Linked DNA regions of Homo sapiens: regions 2 and 3 are each linked to region 1. Evidence: promoter capture Hi-C in human tissues and cell types (Jung and others, 2019). All regions are on one chromosome and are shown on one strand. Each heading gives the region's core, a stretch centred on a gene start or on the middle of the fragment in contact. The rest is flanking DNA. Distances are from core to core; before and after follow the strand shown. Region 1 holds the start of UBR5 (ubiquitin protein ligase E3 component n-recognin 5). Region 2 overlaps LINC03090 (long intergenic non-protein coding RNA 3090). Region 3 overlaps RIMS2 (regulating synaptic membrane exocytosis 2).

What was found. The method cuts DNA at HindIII sites, captures the fragments that hold promoters and counts their contacts. A contact is called where the count stands out against the background at its distance.
Region 2: a fragment that was not itself captured here is called in contact with the fragment with the promoter of UBR5 in region 1 in 1 of the 25 tissues and cell types used here (dorsolateral prefrontal cortex).
Region 3: a fragment that was not itself captured here is called in contact with the fragment with the promoter of UBR5 in region 1 in 1 of the 25 tissues and cell types used here (heart left ventricle).

Annotation. Positions count from the first base shown.
Region 1 is chr8:102,410,966-102,415,023 of GRCh38, reverse strand. UBR5 (ubiquitin protein ligase E3 component n-recognin 5) reads left to right here and starts at 2,324. Exons shown (of 59, transcript NM_015902.6): 1 at 2,324-2,851. The coding sequence starts at 2,790. LOC105375683 (a long non-coding RNA gene) reads right to left here and starts at 2,685. Exons shown (of 5, transcript NR_168428.1): 1 at 2,013-2,685. RefSeq lists enhancers at 910-959, 1,060-1,169, 1,731-2,000, 2,375-3,153, 3,154-3,932 and 2 more and silencers at 2,151-2,350, 2,381-2,460, 2,521-2,960. The HindIII fragment of the contact is 18,623 bases long and covers 1-4,058 here.
Region 2 is chr8:101,140,080-101,144,137 of GRCh38, reverse strand. LINC03090 (long intergenic non-protein coding RNA 3090) reads right to left here. Exons shown (of 7, transcript XR_928462.3): 7 at 3,815-4,058. LOC105375676 (a long non-coding RNA gene) reads left to right here. Exons shown (of 3, transcript XR_928465.4): 3 at 1-57. Among named protein-coding and RNA genes, the nearest start is that of LINC03090, 14 kb to the right of the region's middle. The HindIII fragment of the contact is 5,741 bases long and covers 1-4,058 here.
Region 3 is chr8:103,503,745-103,507,802 of GRCh38, reverse strand. All of the region lies in intron 1 of RIMS2 (regulating synaptic membrane exocytosis 2), which reads right to left. Among named protein-coding and RNA genes, the nearest start is that of RIMS2, 5.2 kb to the right of the region's middle. The HindIII fragment of the contact is 5,012 bases long and covers 1-4,058 here.

The DNA.
Region 1 (4,058 bases), core at 1,075-3,574:
TAGTAGAGACAGGGTTTCACCATGTTGGCCAGGCTGGTCTCAAACTCCTGACCTCAGGTGATCCACCCACCTCGGCCTCCCAAAGTGCTGGGATTATGGGCGTGAGCCAGTGCACCCGGCCAAATCTAACTAATCTAAATCCAAGTAAGGCCACGTAGTTAAGTAGCAGAAACAACTGAAATTTAGATCTGGGCTGGGCGCAGTGGCTCACGCCTGTAATCCCAACACTTTGGGAGGCCGAGGTGGGTGGATCACCTGAGGTCAGGAGTTCGAGACCAACCTGGCCAACATGGTGAAACCTTGTCTCTACTAAAAATACAAAAATTACCCAGGCATGGTGGCAGCGCCTGTAATCCCAGCTACTCGGGAGGCTGAGGCAGGAGAATCACTTGAACCCAGGAGGCGGAGGTGGCAGTGAGCCAAGATCGTGCCATTGCACTCCAGCCTGGGCGACAGAGCAAAGACTCCGTCTCAAAAAAAAAAAATTTTTTTTAGATCTGTTTGGCTTGAAATCTAGCAGTGTCTACTGGTCTACCTTCCTTCCTCAGGGCTCCCAGGGACATCTAATAGTGACCTTGAAATCACTTTTTAGTCTAAACTAATCTGGGCCAATGGTTGAGCTGGTAACCTACAAAAGTGTTCCATTATCTGCCTTGAGGGTACCAGGTCTGTCCTGATTTGTAAGTATTTTTTCATAAATTTTGCTCAGAAGAACTTCCTAAGCAAAACTGTGTGTGTGTGTGTGTAATTCATTAACAGACCACCTCTGTAGAAGGAATGTCATGTTCTCAGTTTTTGCCTTCGAAGAGGTACTTTATTTTTTAAAGGAGGTCATAGAAACCTTTGAGAAGAAAGTCATGAATTGGTTCCTTAGGGAAAAAAAAACAGACTTATTTGATTAAAAAAAATTTTTTTTTGAGATGGAGTCTCGTTCTGTTGCCCGGGCTGGAGTGCAGTGGCATGATCTCAGCTCACTGCAACTTGCCAGGTTCAAGCAAGTCTTCTGCCTCAGCTTCCTGAGTAGTGGGGTTTACAGGCGCGCACAGCCATGCCTGGCTAATTTTTGCATTTTTAGTAGAGATGGGGTTTCACCAAGTTGGCTAGGCTGGTCTCGAACTCCCAACCTCAGGTGATCCGACATCCTCGGCCTTCCAAAGTGCTGGGATTACAGGCGTGAGCCACTGTGCGCCGTGGCCAAAACTCTGAAAGTGTCTTATAGTAGAAACTCGGTATAAAAGATCCTATCTCGGCCAGGCGTGGTGGCTCAGGCCTGTAATCCCAGCACTTTGGGAGGCCGAGGCGGGTGGATCACCTGAGGTCAGGAGTTCGAGACCAGCCTGGCCAACATGGTGAAACCACATCTCTACTAAAAAAGAAATACAAAATTAGCCGGACGTGGTGACACATGCCTGTAATCCCAGCTACTCCATAGACTGAGACAGGAAAATCGCTTGAACCCGGGAGGCGGAGGTTGAGGTGAGCCGAGACCGCGCCATTGCACTCCAGCCTGGGCAACAAGAGCGAAACTCCGTCTCGGGGAAAAAAAAAAAAAAAATAATAATTTTCCGTTCTGATTCCACTGATCATAAATTGAACTCCTTTGTAGAACAGGTTTATCATCTTTCATTTAAAAGTAATAAAAAATCACGAATCATTTATATCAGGAAATTAGTGGAAATTTCCACATTTTGTCTTTGGGCATGTGATGGTGGTGAGGAAACTGGGGAGACCGAGGTAATAGAAGTTGCTGCAAAGCCAACTCCAGGATCCTACTATCTCCTTCTGGAAAGGCCCTTACATAATTTCCTTACTTTTCCAATAAAAGGCTGTATATGTCTTGCCCCTTAACTGATTTTACCAACTTCACCATAAATACAACTGCGGATGAAGGATGAGAAGCAACAAGAAACCCCTAAGGATCCGCCAAATAATTAGGGCTGCCCCAGGGGAATCCGAGCGAAAGAACACAAGAGCCCCTCTTCCTCCTCGCCTCCTCTGGGACACACACTTACCCTCCCTCCCGGCAGGTTAGCCCGCAGCCTCCTCCTTCCCTAACACGTGCTCTCCGGAACACTCACTCTGGAGACATCCCACCCCCGGCGGGGCTGGGCTCGGGAGCCGAACGGACCAATCGGCACGCGCCTTACAGCGTCGTGGCCCGACAACGTTGAGCAGCCCAATCGAGGGGGCCTTGCCGCCCGTTTCCCGGAGCCCCGCCTCTCGCCGCCGCGCCCCCGCCCGCCGGTCTCCTCCCTCCTCCTCCTCCCGTTTGCCCCTCCCCCGCCGCTCCGGAGCGGAGCCTGCGAGACGGAGAAACTGGGGCAGAAGTGAAGATGGCGGCGGCAGCTTCTCGCTAGTGACGCGCGGTGCGGGCTCATCTCCTTCCCCTCCTTCCTCACCTCCCCTAGTCCGGACCCCGTCCGCCGCCGGGACCAGACCGTCCCCGTAGCCCGCAGCCAGCAGCCGCCCCTCTCCTCCCCCGGCCGCCCCTCTCCCAACGCCCGTCTGCCGCTGGCCGGCGGCGCGCCCCTGGTCCCGGCCGCCTGCCTCGCACTCCGCGCTGTCGCCGGGGGAGCGGGTGGCGTGTGGATTCGCCCTCCTGCCCGCCCCTCCGGGCCGCGGACACACGCCCGGCAGGGAGGCGGCGGCGGCCCCTGCGTATTTGCTTCCCTCCATTTGGGGACTGGGAGGCGGCGGCGGCTGTGGGTTTTGGGGAGGGGTAGAGGGCTGGGGGGCGGGCGAGAGCGGGAGGGGGCCGCCCTCGAGTGGAGGACGAGAAGGAAAGCACCATGACGTCCATCCATTTCGTGGTTCACCCGCTGCCGGGCACCGAGGACCAGCTCAATGACAGGTAATAGGGCTGGCGGGTCGGCGGGCGCGGGGGGAGGGGCGCCCTTCCCTCCCTCCCCTCCCCCACGGGCCGTGCCGGGCGGGTGCGGGTGTTTACGCGCCGGCCGGCCAGCTGGGGTGGGGTGCGGGGGTCCTTACTGCCTCCTGCTAGGCTCCTTCCGGGGCAAACTTCTCATCCCGGGGGCAGGGGGCCGCGGGGGGAGCGCGGTGTAGACGGGACTCGCGGTGTAGACTGGAGAGCGCTCTGTAAACCCCCTTCCCCCTCCCGCAAGGAGCGGCGTTGAACTCGGCGGAGATGGGGGGGTGGTTTCTGGCTCCCGGGGGGCAGGCGGTAATTACTGCCCGGCCAAGGCCCGAGGAATCCATATTAGTCAAAGTTGAATTGAGACAGACAATGCGGATGGGGGATGGTGGAGGTAAAAAGAGAGGGAAGAGGAGAAGCGGGGCCAGGGGCCCCGGGGTGGGCTGGGCTGGGCTTGTCCCGGGCCCCCGGCAGCTGTGTCCGGTGGGGTGGTCTGGACCTGGGGATCCCGGGGTCGGGTTGGGGAGAGAAGCCGATTCCCGGCAGATTGCTGGGAGCGGGCGGGGGGTGGGGGGAAGGTGATAGTTGGGGGAGGGAGTGAGGGAGGAAGCGCCATGATTATTGTTATTATTATTAAATTTGAGCCCCTGCAGTGAGGTTTGCCTGCCCCGGGAGGGGATGGATTCAAGCGGGGGTGGGGAAGTGCATTGGATTCCCTTTACTCTCCTCCTGAAATGGTGCTGGCAGCTCCTGCTACTAGCCCCTGTGGTGCGAGCTTTTTTGTTTCCTTTTCTATTCTAATGATAGTGTTTTCCTGAGTTGTAATTTGACAGCTGAAAACCGTGCGTAGAGTGTCAAAGGAAAACTCTTACGTTTGCAGTTCGCAATGCTGCTTTTCTTAACACGCTGTAAATTTCTGGGTTGGGTTTGCTATGGGCGGAGGATGAATTATGATTTTATTTTATGTTTTGTCTTTTATAGGCTGTTTTGGTTTGGATTTCTCCTTTTCTTCCGCCACCGTTCCTTGCCAGTTTAGGATATTGAATTGCAGTGCCGCATGCTCTCAGGGAACTGAGATAAGGCAGGAAAAGTTCCTTCACTGTTGGAAAACAGACTCAGGAGGTTGAGGGAGGCCTCCATTAAAGCATGTCTTAGAATCTAAGACTCAGATCTAATGATGGGCTAA
Region 2 (4,058 bases), core at 393-2,892, 1.3 Mb after region 1:
AAGTTTCTTGACTGAATAATGAAGTGCATGAATAAAACATCAGCAGATTGACCAACAGTTACAGTTCTCCTATGATGATTTCTTTGACAATAACAGTTCACAATCAGTTCTTCTAGGACCATCTGGTGTTGATTCTCTGACCACACCTCCTGAGGCCTCATCAGAGTACAGAGTCCACTGCACTTGCGGATGTGTAATTAGCTGGTATTTCCTTATCATGTTTCTATTTCCTCGTGGATATTTATTCAAAAACAATTTCTAATAACATTCTTTAATAACCTTTTTCCTAATTTTCAAAGCAATGCAAGCCCATTTATACACAGAAAAGCATAAAGCAAACTCTCACACTTATAAGAGGTATTTCTGAGGTCTACCCAGTCCTTCAGGGCAGGGCTTTCTGTTTTGATCACAGCCAGCCCCATCTAGAGCACTTGGAACAGCTCAGCATACCGTAGGCACTCAATAATGAGTATTTGTCAGATGAATGTTCTTGAGCAGGTACCTGGTCTCCGCAGCCTCAGCTGCTTGCTGGGTGAGGGAAGGAGCTTCCCGGGTACCACCAAGACCCCTGAGCTCCTGGGCATGCCCTGGTGGCCGCCACTGTCCTGGGAATTAGTGCCATCTCTGTCTCCCAGTACTGCACACCCCTCTGGGCCCTGTGGCTACTAGGCATTTCTTCTGCATTTGGGGTCCCGGGCCCTGGGGCTTGCTGGGGCCACAGACTGTTTCTGAGCTTAAGAGGCCTGGTTTTCCAGCATTCTCCATGCATGCTCCCTTCAGAACTGGACAGGAAATCGCCCCCTCCCTTTTTTATGAAGGGTGGAAAGCCGGTGGCCTGACCTACTGATGACCTGGTATTAGTGAAAGCTCTTTATGTCTTTAATATTTTGATGCTTGCTTTAACTGTTCCCCCATGGACCATTTAACTGTGGCTTAGCCTGACTTCTTTCCTCTTCACTTTTAAGATGCAAAAGAAAAATGATTAGGAAAGAGCCTGATATGGTTTGGATGTTTGTCCCCTCCAAATCTCATGTTGGAATGTGACCTCCAGCGGTGGAGGTGGGCCTAGTGGGAGGTGTTAGGGTTGCGGGGGCATAACCCTTATGAATATCTTAGTGCTGTCCTCATGATGATGAGTGAGCACTCACTCTGAGTTCACAGGAGATCTGGTTGTTTAAGAAGAGCCTGGCACCTCCTCCCTCTCTTGCTTTCAGTCTCTCCACGTAATACTCTGGCTCCCCTTTGCCTTCTGCCATGATTGGAAACTTCCTGAGGCCTCACCAGAAAGAAGCAGGTGCTGGGCCTATGCTTTGTGCACAGCCTGCAGAACCACGAGCCAAATAAGCCTCCTTTCTTTATAAATTACCCAGTCTCAGGCATTCTTTTAAAGCAACGCACACGGACTAATACAGAGCCTAACCAGGAAAGCCTGCTCACAGCCCTTCTACCGCCGCAGTGAATACAGGGGCCCCACCTGGGTGCACCCCCAGGCGTGGCACTGAGAGGAATCAAGTCCCTGGGTAGGAGCTTCTGTGTGGGTGGCTCCCTCTATCACCCCCAGGGAGGAACTGGGAGATGGCAGAGGCCAAGACTTCATCCTGTGACTCAGAGAGAGGACAAAAGCGGTCAGAGCCTGTCCATCTTCAAGAAGCCCGCGCCCACCACAGGGAGAGGCTTTCAGGATGCATGGGAGCTGTCTCCCGGCCTCCCATCCCCAGCCCCCAGGTAGCACGGCTCCCCTTTAACTGGCTCTGCAGAGTGGGCATTTGTATGACATTTCATTTTCTTTTCGGAGGTTACACAGCCAGAAGTTTGAAAGCCCCTGCCATCCAGGGAAGCCAGCAGTTACCCAGGAAGGGCCTTTTCTGGTGGCAGCACCTGGAGGTGGTCTTTTTCTACTTCAGCTTTGCAAGTCCCAGAACTCCACTTTGTCAGGACACCCAGAATAGGTCAGTTCTGAGCTACTGACTTAACCAGATCCACAGAGAATAAAGAATTGATCAGAGCACCAGTACATCTGTTCACAACTGAGAATGCCCCTTCTCAGGGATCAGAACATTAATGACCAGCATTGGGAGCCACCTGGCTAATTCTTCCTAGTATCAAAGCAGCCAGGGCCAGGTGCAGTGGCTCATACCTGTAATCCCAGCACTTTGGGAGACCAAGGTTGGCAAATCACTTCAGGTCAGGAGTTCGAGACCAGCCTGGCCAGCATGGTGAAACCCTGTCTCTACAACAAATACAAAAATTAGCTGGGTGTGGTGGCACACACCTGTACTCTCAGCTACTTGGGAGGCTGAGACAGGAAAATATCTTGAACCCGGGAGGCAGAGGTTGCAGTGAGCCGAGATTGCACCACTGCACTCCAGCCTGGGCAGCAGAGCAAGACTCTGTCTCAAAAAAAAAAAAAAAATTGTAGCCAGGATGCCACATTAGTAATCAGAAGACTGTTCTGTGGAGCTAGAATAAAAAGCAAGGAAGGTGGATTCAGTCAATGGCATTTTATCCAGGCCATGGTGGACCTGATGATTCGTGTCTTTCTCAACAACAAACTCCTCTCTCCTGCCTGGAAAGCTGCAGCTACTGAATCCAGGTAGCTCCTGGATGGCGCTGAATAGAACCTGCCTGGAGCAGACAATGTTCTTGCTACCCCCTGGCCAATTCTTACTTCTTGCTTCCCCAAAGAACCCTGCCTCTCCTGGTACTTATCCTCCTCGGCCTAGGTAGAGGCTTCAGGGAGGTGCGTCCCATCTGAGGACCCAGGAGATGAATCTTTACTGGTCCAAACAGTGGATCTCCTCCCTGTTGGACCCAGTACCCTCTTTTTATCACAAATATTTTTATATTTTTTTGCCTCAAACTCCTGGGCTCAAATGATCCTCCCAGCTCAGCCTCCTGAGTAGCTGGGACTATAGGCACACACCGCCAGGCTCAGCTAATTTTCTTTTTTTAATTTTTTGTAAGGACAGGGTTTTTTCTATGTCGCCGAGGCTAGTCTTGAACTCCTGGGCTCAAGTAATCCTACCACCTCAGCCTCCCAAAATGTTGGGATTATAGGCATGAGCCACTGCACCCAGCCCTACAAATATTTTATAATGTCCCTTTTACTACACTGAAATGAAATTTGTATACAACATAAACTATCTGTACACATAATTTTAAAAATCAAATAACTATTATGAAGTGGAATTAAAAGAGAAATAATGTACAATAAAACAACATGTATTTCAACATGCAAATTCTTGGCAGAACTGTGCTAAAAGAAATAACATTGCAGGTGCCTGGATCCATACCTAGAATCACAGTCAATGTGGCAGCCACTGGGGCAGGCCCATCGGGTGTATTGTACTGGAGGCTCGAATTCCATGAGTAATGTTGACATTGCTAATGTGATTTTCCAAAACAGTGAACAACTCCTGGAAAAGTTCTAAACAAAACAAAGCAAGATCTTCTCTCGATGTGCACAGCAATTGCTTTCCTGGAAAATACAGTGTGTTTTTTAAATACTTTGGGTTTATATATGAGAGTTTGGTTTTAGCTCAGATCACTTTGAAGATTTTTCATTTGTGCAAATGTTCAATGGGACATTCAAAAATCATGCAGGTCACAGAGTGTGACCATGACCATCCCACACATCGCAGGTTGTCTACCATCTCTAGCCTCTGCCCACTGCATGGTCATAGCCCTCCTTGAATTATTGTGCCAGCCAAAAATGACCCCCTTCACATTTTCACAATGCCCCATGGACCCAAGTGAATCCTGGTGCTCCCATTCCCCCTTTCCCATAATGAAACACAAGGGGAATTCCACTGGAGGCCTTTAGCACAAGGTGTTTCTTTAATACCTGGTAAGAAGAGACACAGGTGAATAAACAGCACCTTTCTCTGCCTATGGTTGTTGCATGAGAATGCGATGTTTGGGGTCTGCAGCCCCCTTGCTAGCTGGGGGCAACCAGCCTGAGAAAGAGGCCAGCACACTGGGCAGGGCAGAGCAGAAAGGGGGAAGGAAGCTGGAGACCAGATGGCTTCAAATGAGCTACTGCAACAGCCAGTCCCGGA
Region 3 (4,058 bases), core at 434-2,933, 1.1 Mb before region 1:
TCTTAAAGGATCACTTTTACAGCCAAATTTTCCCTAATTCCTAATATTCCTTAAATTTAAAAATGATATCTATCACAATGTTCTTCTAGTTTCTAGTCAAAAAAGATATGCTCTTAGTCCAAAAGAAAGATAAGCTGCAATCATACACAAACACTGTAAGTTTCCTTCCATGTAAAATAAGCAAAATTAGGCATGTTTAAAAATTACATTTGATTTCAAAAATAAGGACACTACTACATAAGCAAATCTTTTTTTAAGATTATTGGAGTTCACCTTGAAAGTTTGTACCACCTAGATGAACATAATATTTCATTCCCAATGTGCGTTCATTCACCCGATTAATATTTTTGAGTACTACTATGTGTAAGGCATTGTATTACATTAGAAGTTGAAGCTGCATTAGTGAACAAAACAGACATGGTGTGTGCTCTCTTTGAGTTGATAATCTAGCAGAGTGGACAGACCATAAACAAGTAAATAAATCATTATAAATTTTGATAAGCATAATTGGGGAAATATAAAAGGTATTGTTATAAAGAATAATGGAGAGAATCTACATAAGAAAGAGTGGTCAGAAAAGAGCTCTCTAAAGATCCAAATTTGAAGCTAAGCCAGAAGGATGAGAAACCGGCAATCATACAAAGCTTAAGTGTATTTGAGGGGCGATGTGAAGATCAGCATTCTAAGCTCAATAACCATACTTCAGAATTAGCTTAACCTAATACGGTTCTCTGGGTTCTTAGATACAATGTGAATAAGACAAATAGGTAAATATAGATTTTAGTTAAATAATAGAGTAAAAAGTTTAACCAAGGCAAATCTAAAGTCAATTACAAAGTAGTTTCCACAAGTAAGTCCCCTCAATTCACCTTTGACTATCAGTATCTTGCCGATTACCAATAACTTGATGTCAGTGCTATTTTCACTGCTATGTCTTAGTTATCAGGCTCCTTAAGAATGGTATTTGCTGAGGAAACTATTTTCAAGTTGTCACCCACCCTCTCCCCATCCCTAGTCTTCTAAACAAATAATGAAGTCGCTTAAAAGCCCTCCTGGCATATTTTGACTTCATAATAGACAAGGAAAAGAATCTCTCAATTTTTAGAAAATAAGAAAATTTCACCCAGCAATCCTATGATAAGGTTTAAAGAGTGCTATCTATGTCAGTTAACAATAATGATTATTTATTGCACCACTACTTATGCCAGGATACTTAGTCTATAACAATCACAATCCTTCAAAATAGGTGTTATTACTCAAATAGTATAGATGAGGAAACTCAGAGTTTAATAATAACAATCACAATCCTTCAAAATAGGTGTTATTACTCAAATAGTATAGATGAGGAAACTCAGAGTTTAATAATATAAGCAAAACGTTACCATTATTAATTAGTAAAGTAAGGTGTCAAGTCAAAGTTCATCTGGTTTATCACACTTGCTTCCACTATCTCTTTCTTCATCGCACAATATAATTAGTTCTTTATCAAAATCTATTGTCAAGAGGAAGATATTATTTAATTGCCCTTATTTCAAAATAGAATATATATAAATTTATTGGGTACTCTTTCATAAAATATAAGTCAATTTTTTGTTTGCTTGTTTTCTTATAAAATGTCAATCAATTTTTTAGAATGCATTTTGAATCCTTAAAAACTATAGTTTTTCATTTTTTTGGCAATGGCAACAGTGGTTTACATATGCAATTTTTATTTAAAAGTATTCATGATTCAATTGGTACTTTTTAAAAATACTAGAATAGGGAAGATCATTCTAAGAAGATCACAAACTCAAAATCCATAAAACAAAACTACAATAAATTCAATTTTTTTAAATCGTGACCAGTAAAAAAGGCATAAACAAGGTCCTAAAACAAATAACATGTAAGAGAGCCTCCACAAATCACTAAAAATTACTAATAGAAAAGGGAATACAAATGGCTGTAACCAAATTTTTTTAAAAAGGCTCTCAATCTTTCTGACAAGAAAATTGCAAATAAGTCTACAGTGGCATCTTTTTCATTGAAACATTGGTAAAGATTGCCATACACTGAGTTGGCGAGGATGTGGGAAAGTCCCCTTAGTACACACCACTTATACACACTTCCTCTACAAAAGTAAATTTCACAATATTTATTAAATTTAAAATATACTAACCCTTTGGCCCAACAACTTTGTTTCTAGGAATCTGTCTCAAATATACATTCATACATGTAGGAAATGCATGTACGAAGATATTTATCACAGATAATACTGTGATAAATACTAAAAATTTCTAATGACAAAATACTTAGAAAAAAACTTAAATACCCACAAATATGGTACTAGTTAAAGAAATTACAGAATATTCATTAAAAGGGATAGTATATATCCTATATCCATTAAGGTTAACGAGGCAGCTATACAGTCACAGATGTGGAACTGACCTCTTATAAAGCAAACTGCAGGACACATTTCTGTTTTTACGTTTACATCCATCCATACATACATGTATGAGCACACACATACACACATATACAGACACACACAATATTATATATACACATGTATTTATTCTTATGCATAGACTGTCTCTAGAAGAGTATACAATATAAAATATACTAGTAACAGTAGTTGGCTCTGGGTAGGGGAAATAGGTAGCTAAGAAATTTGGGGGCTGCGGGTTGCTCACACCTGTAATCCCAACACTTTGAGAGGCCAAGGCAGGAGGATCACTTGAGCCCAGGAGTTCAAGACCAGCCTGGGCAACATAGGGAGACCTCATCTCTACAAGAATAAAAAATAAATTAGTCGAGTGTCATGACACCTGCCTGTGGTCCCAGTTACTCCAGAGGCTGAGGTGAGAGAATCGCTTGAGCCCAGGAGGTCGTGGCTGCAGTGAGCCGTTATTTCGCCATCTCACTCCAGCCTGGGCCTCAAACCAAGAAAGACCCTATCTCAAAAAAAAAAAAAAAAAAAGAAAGAAAGAAAAGAAAAGAAAGAAAAAAAAAGATTTTATTTCAAAATTTTATAAATTAACTTTAGAAAATACTTTTAAAATTGAATTATTTTAAAAAATAGAGAACTGCTCACTATATATGTGCTAAATATATACTAATTGTTATCCTAACCTATCAGGAAAATTTTTACTTATTGCCTTCCTTTATTTGGGAAGCAAATTAACCCTTTAACAGAAAATCTAAACTATGAATGAAAATATACACATCAAGAAACACATAATTTCTAATTTGTGTTACAAAAAGCTTATCTGAAAGGCTATGATATGTACATATTAGAAACTCAGTATTTACTGAATACTTTTCTATTGATTTAGTGGGTTTGCTTTCCTCAGACATTTTTTCACAATTACACAAAAACCCACTGGAAATTCAACTTTTAATAAATTATGTTTTTCTTTCAAACAATGATTCCTCATTGTCCCACAAAATTGATAAGCTACCTCATTAACATTACCACAATTTAAATAAACACAATTTATTAAGTACTTATTACGTGCAGGTGTTAAGGATGCTGCAAAACACAAACTCAAAAAAAGGGTAAATTTTGATTCTTGCCCTCAAGAAGTTTACAATCTTGAAAGACAAGACTTAAAAACATTAATCATTCAGATGTCTTGGAAGATTGAAAAAAAAACATTAGTCAGTAAAAGGACATTATAAATTTTACTGATAAATTGAATTAGCCAAATTTAAACTGCTACAGCAATACATGAAAGGATTCTTTAAAGTAATTACTGATTAGGGTTCTACTGAGATTTTTAAATGCTTCCAAAATTATAGTACCTCGCTCATATGTAAAATGGTATTATTTGATGATGATAGACTTCCTATGTGGATGTTCAGCTGGACTTTGAGGAAATTACTAATAATTAGGAATAGCTTTTAATTATTCAGGCTCCTAAGGTGAGAGATAACAGTAATGGTCTCAGTTTTGATCACTCAGTTCTCTTATTAAAAATATCTCAAGCATGAATCTTTCACTACATGCATATTTAAAATTATATGCATCTAGGTATTGTCATCTATATATTAAATATTAATAAGGTTCAAATTCCTTCTTT